Regions from separate parts of the Homo sapiens genome. Here regions 2 and 3 are each linked to region 1. Evidence: promoter capture Hi-C in 16 types of primary human blood cells and fetal thymus (Javierre and others, 2016). All regions are on one chromosome and are shown on one strand. The core of a region is centred on a gene start or on the middle of the fragment in contact, and the rest is flanking DNA. Distances in the headings are between cores, read along the strand shown. Region 1 holds the start of RRAGD (Ras related GTP binding D). Region 2 overlaps MAP3K7 (mitogen-activated protein kinase kinase kinase 7). Region 3 overlaps MAP3K7 (mitogen-activated protein kinase kinase kinase 7).

Region 1 (3,847 bases), core at 1,294-3,793:
CCTGACAAGGGATTCTGCATCAAGGCCTAAACCCAAAAGTCAAAGCCAGGGAAATCTGGAAAGAACAGAGGCCAAAATATAACGGAGGAAGTCTGAGAAGCAGACCACCTATCCACTGCAGGCCCAGGTGGACAGAGACCAGGCTTAAGCAACGTTTGCCGAGCAAACATGTTGCTCTTCTCACAATATAAATATATTTAATCCTTTTATAGCAAGATCCCAAGCTGATCCCAAAAGCCCATTCAGAAGGATTTTATTATGCGAGTCACCAAAAATCAGTTACAGGCAAGTTTGCCTTTACGTTAACAGCTAAGGAGCCTCCAAGTCTGGGCTCTGGGGAAGCCCTTTGTTCCGGGAATCCCATCCCTCAAGCAGGGCTTTAATTTCACTTCAATTTCAAGTCCCCAAATCAAATTTTAAAAGTGCCCACTTAAAGAACTGCAGAATAAACGAGGGGTCCAGTACTTTTTCTGGACCCTCCAGGCCTCAGGACAGTATCAAATTACAGGGCTTTCCCTCCTGGATATGGCCCCTCCGCCCCCCCACTTTTTTTCTTTTTTAAAAAAGAGAATCCCACACACACCCTACTGTGTCCACCATTTCAAATACCTTGCAAATACATCCCTATTCTGCATCTCTCCGGAGTCTTCTAAGAATCTGGGAGGAGCTAACAAATGGAATTTGAATAATAATGAGGCGACTGAACAATTTAATTACGGAAGGTAGCTCTAGAGACTCCAATAAAACGGCTGAAAGCCTTTATCTACAAAAATGTGGCCTGGTGCTCAACGGTAAGACCAATTACCGGGAGTGCAGAAGACAGAAAGCACAAAGGTGCACACATCAGTTTAAGCAAATGAGGAATTAGCACAAATCATCCCAAGAGAGAAAACGCTATGAAAAAGGGTGACTTGAGAGGCTGCTTTCTCATCTACCAGGCGCAAGGCATAGTTAACTTTATTTCCTTTCTGATTCATTGAAAGTCGTGCCTGCCAGATGTAGAATAATGAAACTACCCTAGTGAGAAAAGCTTTGCATAGAGAATTTAAAATAAGTTCAGTGAATTCTCAATAAAAGTTCTTTAAAAATCAATAGTCACAAAGGTACTTGTATCTCTCACACAATTTCTTCAGTGTGAAACATTAAAGTTAGTTCCTTCTCTTGGATGCATACAGTTTCACTGAGAATAACATCATGTTTAACAGCCGCTTTCTATTGACCTTTCCAAGTGACCTTACAGTAAAGGAACTTTTGCTCGCTTCTGAGGGAAACTAAAAAAAGTTTAACCTCTCTGGAATACTAAAAGGCTCTCAACTTCCTTACACCTTAAGAAAATGCAGGAAGCCCCCACAAGCTGAACGATTGCTAAAACCCGCTTCTAGAACAGGAAAAAGAGTTTGCTTCACTATTGAAGCAAAGAATTCCCCGCCGCGCGCTCACTCCCGGGCAGGCACTGCCATGTCCAGGTGGTGATACCGAGAGCAGATAAGGTGTCCTGACAACGGTGTTTGCGTGGATCCCGGGAAATCTGCGGCCTCTCGGAGACTCCCACAACAGCTTGGCGAGCATCCCCCCGCCGCCCCGCGGGTCTCCCCAGCCACTACCTGGGTGGGCCCCTCCCGCGGCGACGCGGGGCGAGACTGACACCCGCAGCTGCCGACGACCCTGCCAGTCACGCCGCCGCCGGCTGCCTTTTTTTAGCCACGACATCTGACCCTGGCTTCAACAGCACCGTTCTGGGAGAGAGGTCCCAGGGCGCGCCCGCGGTCCCCTCCCCTCCCCAACCGCCAGACGCTGCGGAGAGCTTGGGGTGAGGGGCGCGGGAGGCACCGGCTCTGAAAGGGGCAGAAGCGCGCGCTCCTCCAGCCCAGACGCTTACTCCCTCCTTCCCCTTTTCCACCGATCCTGGTTGCCCCTCCGCCACCAGCACCGCGCTCCCTCATTTGGCAGCTCGAGGTCGGGCTTTTGGCGTCCCTCCCCACCCCAAACCCTCAACTGGACCCGCTCCCCTGGACCCCCTCCAAGTCGGTGGCTCGCGCACGGCCGGGCTGGGGGCGGGAAGGCGCCAAGGGGAGGAAAGGGGCGCGAGCCGAGGACGCGGGGGCCGGGCGCTCACCTCCCTCCTCTGTGCCGCTGTCCGGATCGGCGTCGGAGGAGTCGGGCCCGTCTCCGTAGTCCGCTAGCCCCACCAGCTCATCCTCCTCCTCCTCCTCCTCCGCGTCGTCCTCGTCCTGCGGCTGCGGCTTCCCCAGCACCTGGCTCATCGTGCCCACCGGCCGGCCGGCCCGGGGACGGCGGGGGTCCCGGGGTGGGGGCCAAGCCTCCTAGCCGGCCGCCCGCAGCCTATTTCTGAAGCGGAGGTTTGTCTAGAGCTCAGCGGGGCCCGGCGGAAGCGGGGGCCGCGCGTCCCCCGGCGGGCGGCGCCCAGGTCCGGGTCCCGCGGTTCCCAGCGCGCCCGAAGCCCCCTCCCCCGCCCCGCCCGCCGGCGGAGGAGTCAGCCGGAGCGCGGCAGTTCCTCCCGGAGGAGGGAGAGAGAGAGAGACTGCGTGACCCGAGTCACCTGACACACACTGTCACATACTCACATACACACCCCGCACGGGCGCGCGCGCGCTCGCCCGGCCGCGGGCACCACTCGGCGGGGCGCTGGGCCGAGGACACACATGCACACGCACACGCACACGCACGAGGAGACCGGGGAGGCGCGGGGCCCCTGCACCCTCCCAGACTCACACCGACACACGCCCCGTACACGGGGCCCCCGGGACGCCGGCCGTCACCCACCGCGGCTGCGCGCCAGGGGCCCCCACGCGCCTCTCCTTCACGTGGTCCCCGCACAGGCAGGGGAGGGGGCGCCGCACACCCTCAATGTCCCCCCCGCCGTCCCACTCCCACACGCCCGCAGAGCGTCTACCGTGGGCGGATGCCTCCTGCTTACAGTCCTGAGCTAGGGTCCCAAGCGGGTGGCCTCCCAACACTGTGGCGCCCAGATCCCCCACCCCAGAGCAGCGTGCCCAGGACACCCTGTGGACGCTCAAGAGCCCCAGGCGGAGAACTCAGATAAATGCACAGTGGAGGCGCAGTCTCCATAGCAATTGTCTTTTAGTGTGCCTTTATGGTTCAAAGTGCTTCCCACCAAGAATATTTAAAAAGCAGGCCTACCCAGACGTAAATGTTTCTGAAGAAATCACATGACTCGTGGCTGCTTAGACTAAATAATTCCTCTGCAGCCCTTTGGAAAAGGTCTCAGTGTATAACACACTCGGGGGCTATTCATGGCCACCTCCTCATGTCTCATTGTTGCATAGACTGTAATCCCACATGAATAAAATATTTCAAGGCTTTTGTGGGAGTAGGGGAGTGGCGGTGGTGGGGGGGCAATTCTCAAATAGGAATAGCAGCAACGTGGAGTGAGACTCTAAAACCTGCATTCCTCCTTCACAAGCTTTTCACCACGGAACACACTGTACCCACCCTTTCTGGGTACTGCAAAAAATTACGTGGATGAACTTCCTTCTGTGGAGCACAATAAGAAAAAACCGGCCGGTCAGCATGATGATCCAGCTCCTACAGGTGCCAGCAGCTCAGCCGGTGGTGCGGTGCAGAAGCGGAGGGAGGAAGCTAGGGCAGGAGACTCTCAGGGCCCAAGGGTGCTAACCTCCATAGGAAACATTTATTAACCACCTCCTATATGCCTGAGGCTGGGCTAAGTAGAGGGTCCAAGAATGCTCAGGGCAGTGTTCCTGCCCTGAAGGAGCTCACAGTCTACCAAATCATGACTCATGTCCTGGATTTTTTTTAGTATTTCTGAGTGCAGAAGGTGGATGCAGACACTTTCCAGAAGGTG
Region 2 (3,733 bases), core at 316-2,815, 1.1 Mb after region 1:
ATTATAAACTTAAACCAGAGCATCCATTTTTAAAATGTATTCAAAATTATAGCCACACATGTGCAATATATTTCAAGGCAAAGACAAAATTCAGCTGATATTGCAAATTATTTCTAGCAATTGGTATTTTGTGGTGTTTCTAGGTACAGAAAAAGAAAACAATGGGACGGGAGTTGGAAGGTAGAAGCAACATATGAGGCAGAAATGTAGCAGTTATGTGAGAGAGAGCCTTAAACATTTTTTATTTTACCCCCATGAAGTCACAATCTGCCACACTATTGACTGGCATATACAGATTAGTGTAGACTGAAGACAGAAGGCTCTGCTGAGTTGAGTACCAGACCCGGGCAAATGCTGTAATGTCAGAGAACGTACTCCCTTGCCAGGGGGTTCAGAAATCAAAAAGAGCTGCTATCACCTGAATGTTAATGATAAAACTGGGCAAGAGCATTGCCCTGTCTACCACTGGGGAGGAGCAAGTCTATAATGAATTCTACACATGTGCTGCGTAGTGGTGAATGCTCTGGACAGTCCTAGGTTGGGCTGTGCTAGGGGTGAAACAGGAGTTTTTGCCGCCACTAAATTTAAACTTACTAAAACTAGAGAGTACACCCTGGCTAAACATAGTTCTATCTTACATGACACACAGAAAAACCACCCAGTTAATTTTTTAAATTAAATTATAAACTTGACCAAACCACATCAGATAACTATAAATACTTGAGTTGTATTTTAGTTTGTAAAGACAGAAAGCTGGCTTTTAAACTTCAATCTAATTGTTACTATTAATAACATAGTCGATCTTATATAAAATATCAAATGCTTTAATTTTCCAAGGGCTAAGAGATCATCTTTCCCTTCGTGACTTAATATAATATAAATAAAAAATTTCATAAGTACACTTAAAAGCATTTATCAAGGTATTCTCTTAAAGTTAGGGAAAAGTTAATTCTACTATGGCACATCATTTCCTGTTTGCCCATAATGAAACGATGCCGTCACTACCTTTAGGCAGGTAGACATTAATACTAATATTGTGAACAGTTAGTTATTCATGTTGGGGAGCTTTAATAACTCATCACAGGTTTCTAAAGGTCTAATAGAATATTTGTATAACTGAAAATGGTGTCTCTTATCAGTTAAAAACAATTCAAAAGGTCAATGGTCAGAATTTTTTTCAACTTAAGGTACATGACATCTCGTGTCCTTAAAAGATTGAGATGAAGATGATGGGGATGATTTTTACCATTCTCCGATTTTGGTTACTGAAAAAATGACTTTACTACTATCATCTAGTAGGATGAATCTAGTAGGAAAATCACAGGCTGAAGTATCAAGAATTCAATACGCTTCGCAACTGGAAAAAAACCCCAAACAGACAATCTTTAAAATACATGTTTAGTATCTGGATTAAAAAAAATACAGAAGGCAAGGCAGTCTCTGTCTCTGTATTCAAAATGGTATTTTAACATGTATTACTAAATAGTTTATTTAATATAAAAATCTAAACAACAGTATAATGCCTGCCTTTGTAAACATTAGAGTAATGACATGGCCAAATGAATATAAACATGACTGATTCAACTTCATAAGTATGAAGAAACAGACTGGTCACCTGTGGAATCATCAGGGGTCCATGGATGACTTCGAGTTGGCTTTTCTGAGGTTGGTCCTGAGGTAGTAATCATTCTGACACTGGGACTGGATGACCTACTGCTCACCTACAGGAAGAAGTCACAGGAGAAACAAAATGTGATTTTTTGATTAAAAAAAATGACGAGAACGTTTCCATTAAAAGGCAAGAAGAGACTTAGAGATCCCCCCAAAACTCTTGTAAACAACAAAATAAATCCTCTCTTATATATATGTAAAAATTTATATTCACTCACGCATGATACCTATTAAAAACTGATGAGCTTGCAAGAAACTAAGAAATACTCTGAGATTAGAAACAAAACAATATCAGGAAACTAGTAAGTGCTTAAGCTGACAGCCCTCGGAATTTCAACTAAACACCAATGGCCTAGAGCTACTGTTTTCACAGGCTGCTGCACTCAGAGGAATGGACCATAAAGCCTTGGGCCTTTGTAGGATGGAAGTAAGACTGGAGAAACCTCTGCTTAAAGCTAAAACTCAGCAAAGGCTTCACTCTCAGAGAAAAGGTCACTCAACTAGGAAAAAAAAAATCTGACCTACAAAAGCAGACAGGAAACAAATTTGTCTCTCTTGGGTTAGTGGCTCTGGGTGGAAGGGAGAAATGTATTAACTGTGAATCCACAAAAAATTTCCAGATTGGATGCAGGTTACAACAAATTCCAACCACAACAAATCCCCAGCATAAGAAATAGGAGGAAGCTCACAAATTGAGTTCAACATGGAACGTATACATTCAAATTCTAGGAAACAATCAACAGGAGACAGAAAAAGCAGCCAGAAGAAAGCAGAACAATATCTTCAAAGTGCTGAAAAATAACTGCCAGTCTAGAATTGTCTAGCCAACAAAATTTGAAGATAGAGGCCAAAATAACATTCTTAGATGGGCAAAAACTGAGTTTACCTTCCATACATTCTTACCACATAAGTTTTTCAAGCATGTATTTTTGGAAGAAGAAAAATTTTACTTGATAGAAGGATCAAGATGCAATAAGGAATAGTGATAAACAGGGAAATAAATCTACACACTGAAAACATTCAGTGACAGAAACAGTGAATTTATAGAATTATCAAACAAACAAGATGGCACTAAAATTATAATAACAATAGCACAAGCATGAAAAGCACTGACTTAAAACTCCTTGTTTTAAATATTGTTCAGGATGAGGGTACAGATCTTTACTAGGTTGGGCATGAATGTTAAAATTTCAAAGGTATTTACTAAAAGTAGTAATTAATATATAACTCCCAAACCAGAAAGAAAATAATAAAATGAAGAATAAATTTATTCAACTCAAAACTTGAAAGAAAAGAAAGAGAAATAAAACATAAGAGAGCAAACTTATCAGTAACCACAATAAATGTAAATGAATTACTCTCCAGTTAAGATATTTAAAAAAAAATCAGATTGTCAGGATGAATTAAATGCTATTTATAAGAGACATATCTAATTTACAGAGACAGAGAAAACAGAAAGTTAAAGGATAAAAAAAGAAAACCAGGCAAAAACTACCCCAAATAAGGTACCTATATTAATATCAGAGAGAATGTATTTTAGGGTCCAAAAAATTACTAGAGAAAGAGATAATATGATAAGTGGTTCAATTCAGAATACAACAATTCAAAATTTATTTTTTAAAAACTAATTTTTTTTTGTAGAAATGGGTCTTACTATGTTGACCAGGCTTCTCTCAATCTCCTGGCCCCAAGTGACCCTCTTGCCTCAGTCTCCCTAAGTGCTGGGATTACAGGCATGAGCCACTGTGCCTGGCCAACGATTCAAAATTTATATGCTGTACATACAAATAGATAAATCAAAAAACTGCAAGGAAAAAGGACATATCCACCATCACAGTGAGATTTGTTTTTAAAGACAGGGTCTTGCTCTGTTGCCCAGGCTGGAGTGCAGTGGTACCATCATGGCTCACTGTACCCTCAAACTCCTGGGCTCAAGCGATCCTTCCATCTCAGCCTCCCGAGTAACTGGGACTACAGGCACACACAACTATGCCCAGTTAATTTTAAAATATTTTGTAGAGCCAGGGTCTTGCTACGTTCCCAGGCTGGTCTCTACCTCTTG
Region 3 (3,816 bases), core at 1,191-3,690, 1.1 Mb after region 1:
ACATGTAATTTTAAAATATATGTTCTAATTTAGGCTGCCAAAGTTTCGTATTTCTTTACTAATTTTAACAAATTCTGGCTCTTTCACTGGAAAGGTCCGTCAGGTGGTTTATTTGCTTTCCAATAAACCAGCTTTATTAGCTTAGAGTTGAATTTTTTAGATTACAAAAAGTGATCTTGGTAGACTATACAATATGGCAGAAAGGCCACCTAAATATTCATTATAAAGTTAGATTAACTTCCCTATTTAATATGCCACAAATAGAGAATTTTATTGAAAGTGAGGTGGCTATACACAGAAACTAGTACAGTACATCTTAGTATAGCACCCCTTAGCCCTAGGATCCCTATCAAAGGCTTACATCTGCTAATGACACTATCTGTGCTAGGTGAGAACTTGCCAGATCTAGAAAAACTCAATTCTTTCTCTCTTTGCCTCTTCATATTGGTGCTGCAGTAGTCTGGAGGAAATATTTAATAACTTACATGCTTCCAGTTAAAGAAAGGTTTACAAACATTAGTTACCGACCGGCTCTTGAACCAAATATACTATTAAAAAAGTGATATTTTCATCCTGGTGGAGAAAGCAAAATAGTGCTCAGGTGTCCTTGAAAAGCATCTCTGCTTCCAGTTGTTTAAGCATTCTATAAAGCCCTCCCCACCTAGATAATTTATTTGCCAATACCTGACATTTGAAACTTCTGAAGGAGGGCAACAAGATACAAGTATTAGAAGCCTAACTACTCATCTATTTTTCAGTTAAAATGTTTGGGCCTCTCTACATTCTACTTACTCCAATTTACTACTTATCATACTGTTAGTAAAAAACCAATATACAATAGAGCTAAACGTCCTTGACTGAAATTAAAAGCGAATACGCGTTTTTTATTCAGTTAAGAGATCTAAATGCGGCTGAAATCATAAGGACACCTAAGGTTTCTTTTTAGCTTTAAGAATGATATAACAAACAATAAATATCAATTAAGTTCAGGTTCTTCAGGAAACTAGGCAAAAATCTTATCTATTTCAGTAAGATCTGACTCAAAAACATTTGTATATTCAATCTTCTTTTGCATATCCTTAAGAACAGTATGTAAGACAGAAAATCCTCTTTGGTCAAGGCATTTTATTGCTCTCGAATGTTATGCCATATTATTTTAGGCTTAGAAATAACAAAAGGTACACTAAAGCAACACTGTTCAAGGTTCTCAAATTGAAGCACTTCAAGGCAATGTTCATCTATAGAATGGATGGTTTTCAAGTACTTGAAATCAAGCATTATAATCTAATCTGAACTAAGAAATAAATTTATCTATGATGATATAATAGCATTAAAAATGTCTGTAATTTAGAAAATTTTACTTTTGCATATCACATTTGGGAAACTCATTTCACTTTATAAAAGCAATCAAGCCGGTATGAACCATGTACAACAAATTTTATATCAGAGTAGAAGTGCAGAAGACTAATGTTTAATTAAATCTTTTATAGGTGGTAAGTATATATGTATATGACAGTATTTTTTTCCAGTAGATTTTAGAATGCATTATAATTACAGTTTATTTCCTTAAATGCTATAACTACTCACACAAAGGCTCCAGAGCAGAACAACCCATCTTCCATTACTGATGCTACAAGCATGAAAAATAATTCGCTTTCTTAACTACTTATTCTCTTACTCTACATGTTAAACTGAAAAAGGTTGTTCCTCTTTTTTTGTAATATTTAGGCATTCTACCTGTTCCTCTTTGACATTTGGATTTTTAAAAGAAATGTAAAATTTAGGTATTCTTCTAACATCAGATGAACTGCATTAGAATGTCTTACATAGTTTCACAATCCCAATAATCTATTTCATTTGTGTACTTGAGATGAAGGTGGGTGAAAAATAGATTCTTGGAAGCTTAGATAGTGACAAAAAGAAAATATGGGAAAAAGTAAAGAAAATCCATGCAAAACAATGATCTGTGTTCTTACTGCCCTTATTAAAGTCCTAGAACAAAAAAAATCTAGAAAAACTTCAAAGAATCCAATAATCTGCTACCTATTCCCTTTTCTTCAAATATAAATGTAACAAATTAGATGTACTGGCTGAAAGGAGAAAGGATATGGTTTTTAAAACTCAAGTTTTAATAAAAAACATTTAAGAAAATCTATTTCTTTTCTCGAAGTCCCTTCCAACTTACCAGCAAGCAAATGCATTAGAAAACTGTAGTTCATATGGTCTAAATACTGGGCAAGAAACTTCCACATTTACATTTACTTTGCTTAGGTAGCACACTGCTACTTGGCAGGACCTTCTCTACAAAGGAAGAGTCAGCAAAATGTCACACACTCTACTGGTAATTTGCTCTTAGCTGCGTGTCTTCCTTGGTAAAAAGGAGCCAGGCTAATCTATAAAGCTCACTCTTTTAAGGGCAGATGGACAGTGGAAAGAAGGAAGGGTTACCGTACAAAAGTTTGTCAGTTCTTCAGAGCCAGTAATATGGTAGAAGAGGTATAAAAAATTGTACAGTCTGACCCACAGGGAGTCCTAAGGTATTAAAGGTTAATTTCTGTATGATCTGAGAGACTACTAAATTGATAAATAGTGCTGTTTTGCTAAGTTGCTTTTTCTTCCACATTTGACTGATGGCATAGTATACACATTTTGAAGAGCGAGCAAAAAACAAGATTACAAGATTAGGGTCTTTGCATTTCTTTACCTATGACTAGGTTAGACATTTTAGTGACTTTAAAGATATATATACAAAACCTTTTTTGTGATGCTTGAAGGATTGCTCTTATTAAGAGAGGTAGTTCATTCCAAGAAGTACATTAGACTCAGTACATTGCACTTGGCCAAAGGGAAGTATTAACGAAACTCTTATCCATGTAAATAAGATCTTTAAAAAGCTATATTTAAAAAGAATCCTTGCAATTGGGTTTTAATGCTAATTAAACAGTTTGAATATATCAAGAAGTATTTGCTAATACCATAAAGCTTGTGGGAAATCCACTTAGAACAAAACAATTTCTAGAAAGTATTAAGAAATTTTGGAAATTAAGTATCACCCTTCTTTACAATTAAAATGTCATGTAGGAAATTTGAGATATTCCCAAAGGATGGGCGGTATTTTTATATTTAATTTAAAAACATTACCTATGAGCACATTCATGATTGGCTTTTATGTCCACTAGTGTCAATTCTACAGCTTGTATTCTTCTATTAAAGAAAGTGCACCTGAGTAAGTTAATGTTTGATATCTGAGGGGGGAAAAGCCTAAAAAGAATATTTAATAAAAGGTATTACTGAATAATATTTTCATATGAATAGCACTGCTGCTCTGGCAATTAAGAGAATTAAGGTTACCTGATTCCATAAAGGCCCAATGTCATAAAAGAGGATCTCCCTGGCTGAAGAGCTCTCCTTAATGTGAACACTAAGAGAAAGCAAGAAGAAATTACTCTAGCTTCTCTGACTTAAACAAAAGAACAAAAAATGGATGTGACTTGGAGTCAGAAGATCTGGGTTGGGGTCCTGGCTATATGATTCTGGAAAAACCACTAAACATCATCAGATCTAAGTTCTTCGTCTGTTAAACAGCTATAATTTCATCCGATAACCTAGTTGTAAGATTGTATAAAGGTAAAATAAGATGTACTTTAAGCTACTTTGTAGGGCACAAAGAACATCTAATCAGGGGTTTTCAGCCTCAGCACTGCTGCCATTTTGGGCTGGATCATTCTTTGTTGGAGAAGACTGCCTGGTACACATCAGGATGTTTAGCAGCATCCCTGGTCTCTGCCCACTAGATGCCAGTAGTACCTGACAGTT

What was found. The method cuts DNA at HindIII sites, captures the fragments that hold promoters and counts their contacts. A CHiCAGO score of 5 or more calls a contact.
Region 2: a contact is called between a fragment that was not itself captured here and the fragment with the promoter of RRAGD in region 1, in 1 of 17 cell types (total CD4 T cells). The highest score is 5.3, in total CD4 T cells.
Region 3: a contact is called between a fragment that was not itself captured here and the fragment with the promoter of RRAGD in region 1, in 1 of 17 cell types (naive CD4 T cells). The highest score is 6.2, in naive CD4 T cells.

Annotation. Positions count from the first base shown.
Region 1 is chr6:89,409,730-89,413,576 of GRCh38, forward strand. RRAGD (Ras related GTP binding D) reads right to left here and starts at 2,544. Exons shown (of 7, transcript NM_021244.5): 1 at 2,117-2,544. The coding sequence starts at 2,264. RefSeq lists silencers at 1,501-1,600, 1,631-1,740, 1,771-2,960. The HindIII fragment of the contact is 2,415 bases long and covers 1,029-3,443 here.
Region 2 is chr6:90,522,063-90,525,795 of GRCh38, forward strand. It overlaps MAP3K7 (mitogen-activated protein kinase kinase kinase 7), which reads right to left. Exons shown (of 17, transcript NM_145331.3): 14 at 1,616-1,721. Among named protein-coding and RNA genes, the nearest start is that of MAP3K7, 63 kb to the right of the region's middle. The HindIII fragment of the contact is 5,232 bases long and covers 1-3,733 here.
Region 3 is chr6:90,539,109-90,542,924 of GRCh38, forward strand. All of the region lies in intron 12 of MAP3K7 (mitogen-activated protein kinase kinase kinase 7), which reads right to left. Among named protein-coding and RNA genes, the nearest start is that of MAP3K7, 46 kb to the right of the region's middle. RefSeq lists a silencer at 2,228-2,428. The HindIII fragment of the contact is 1,080 bases long and covers 1,901-2,980 here.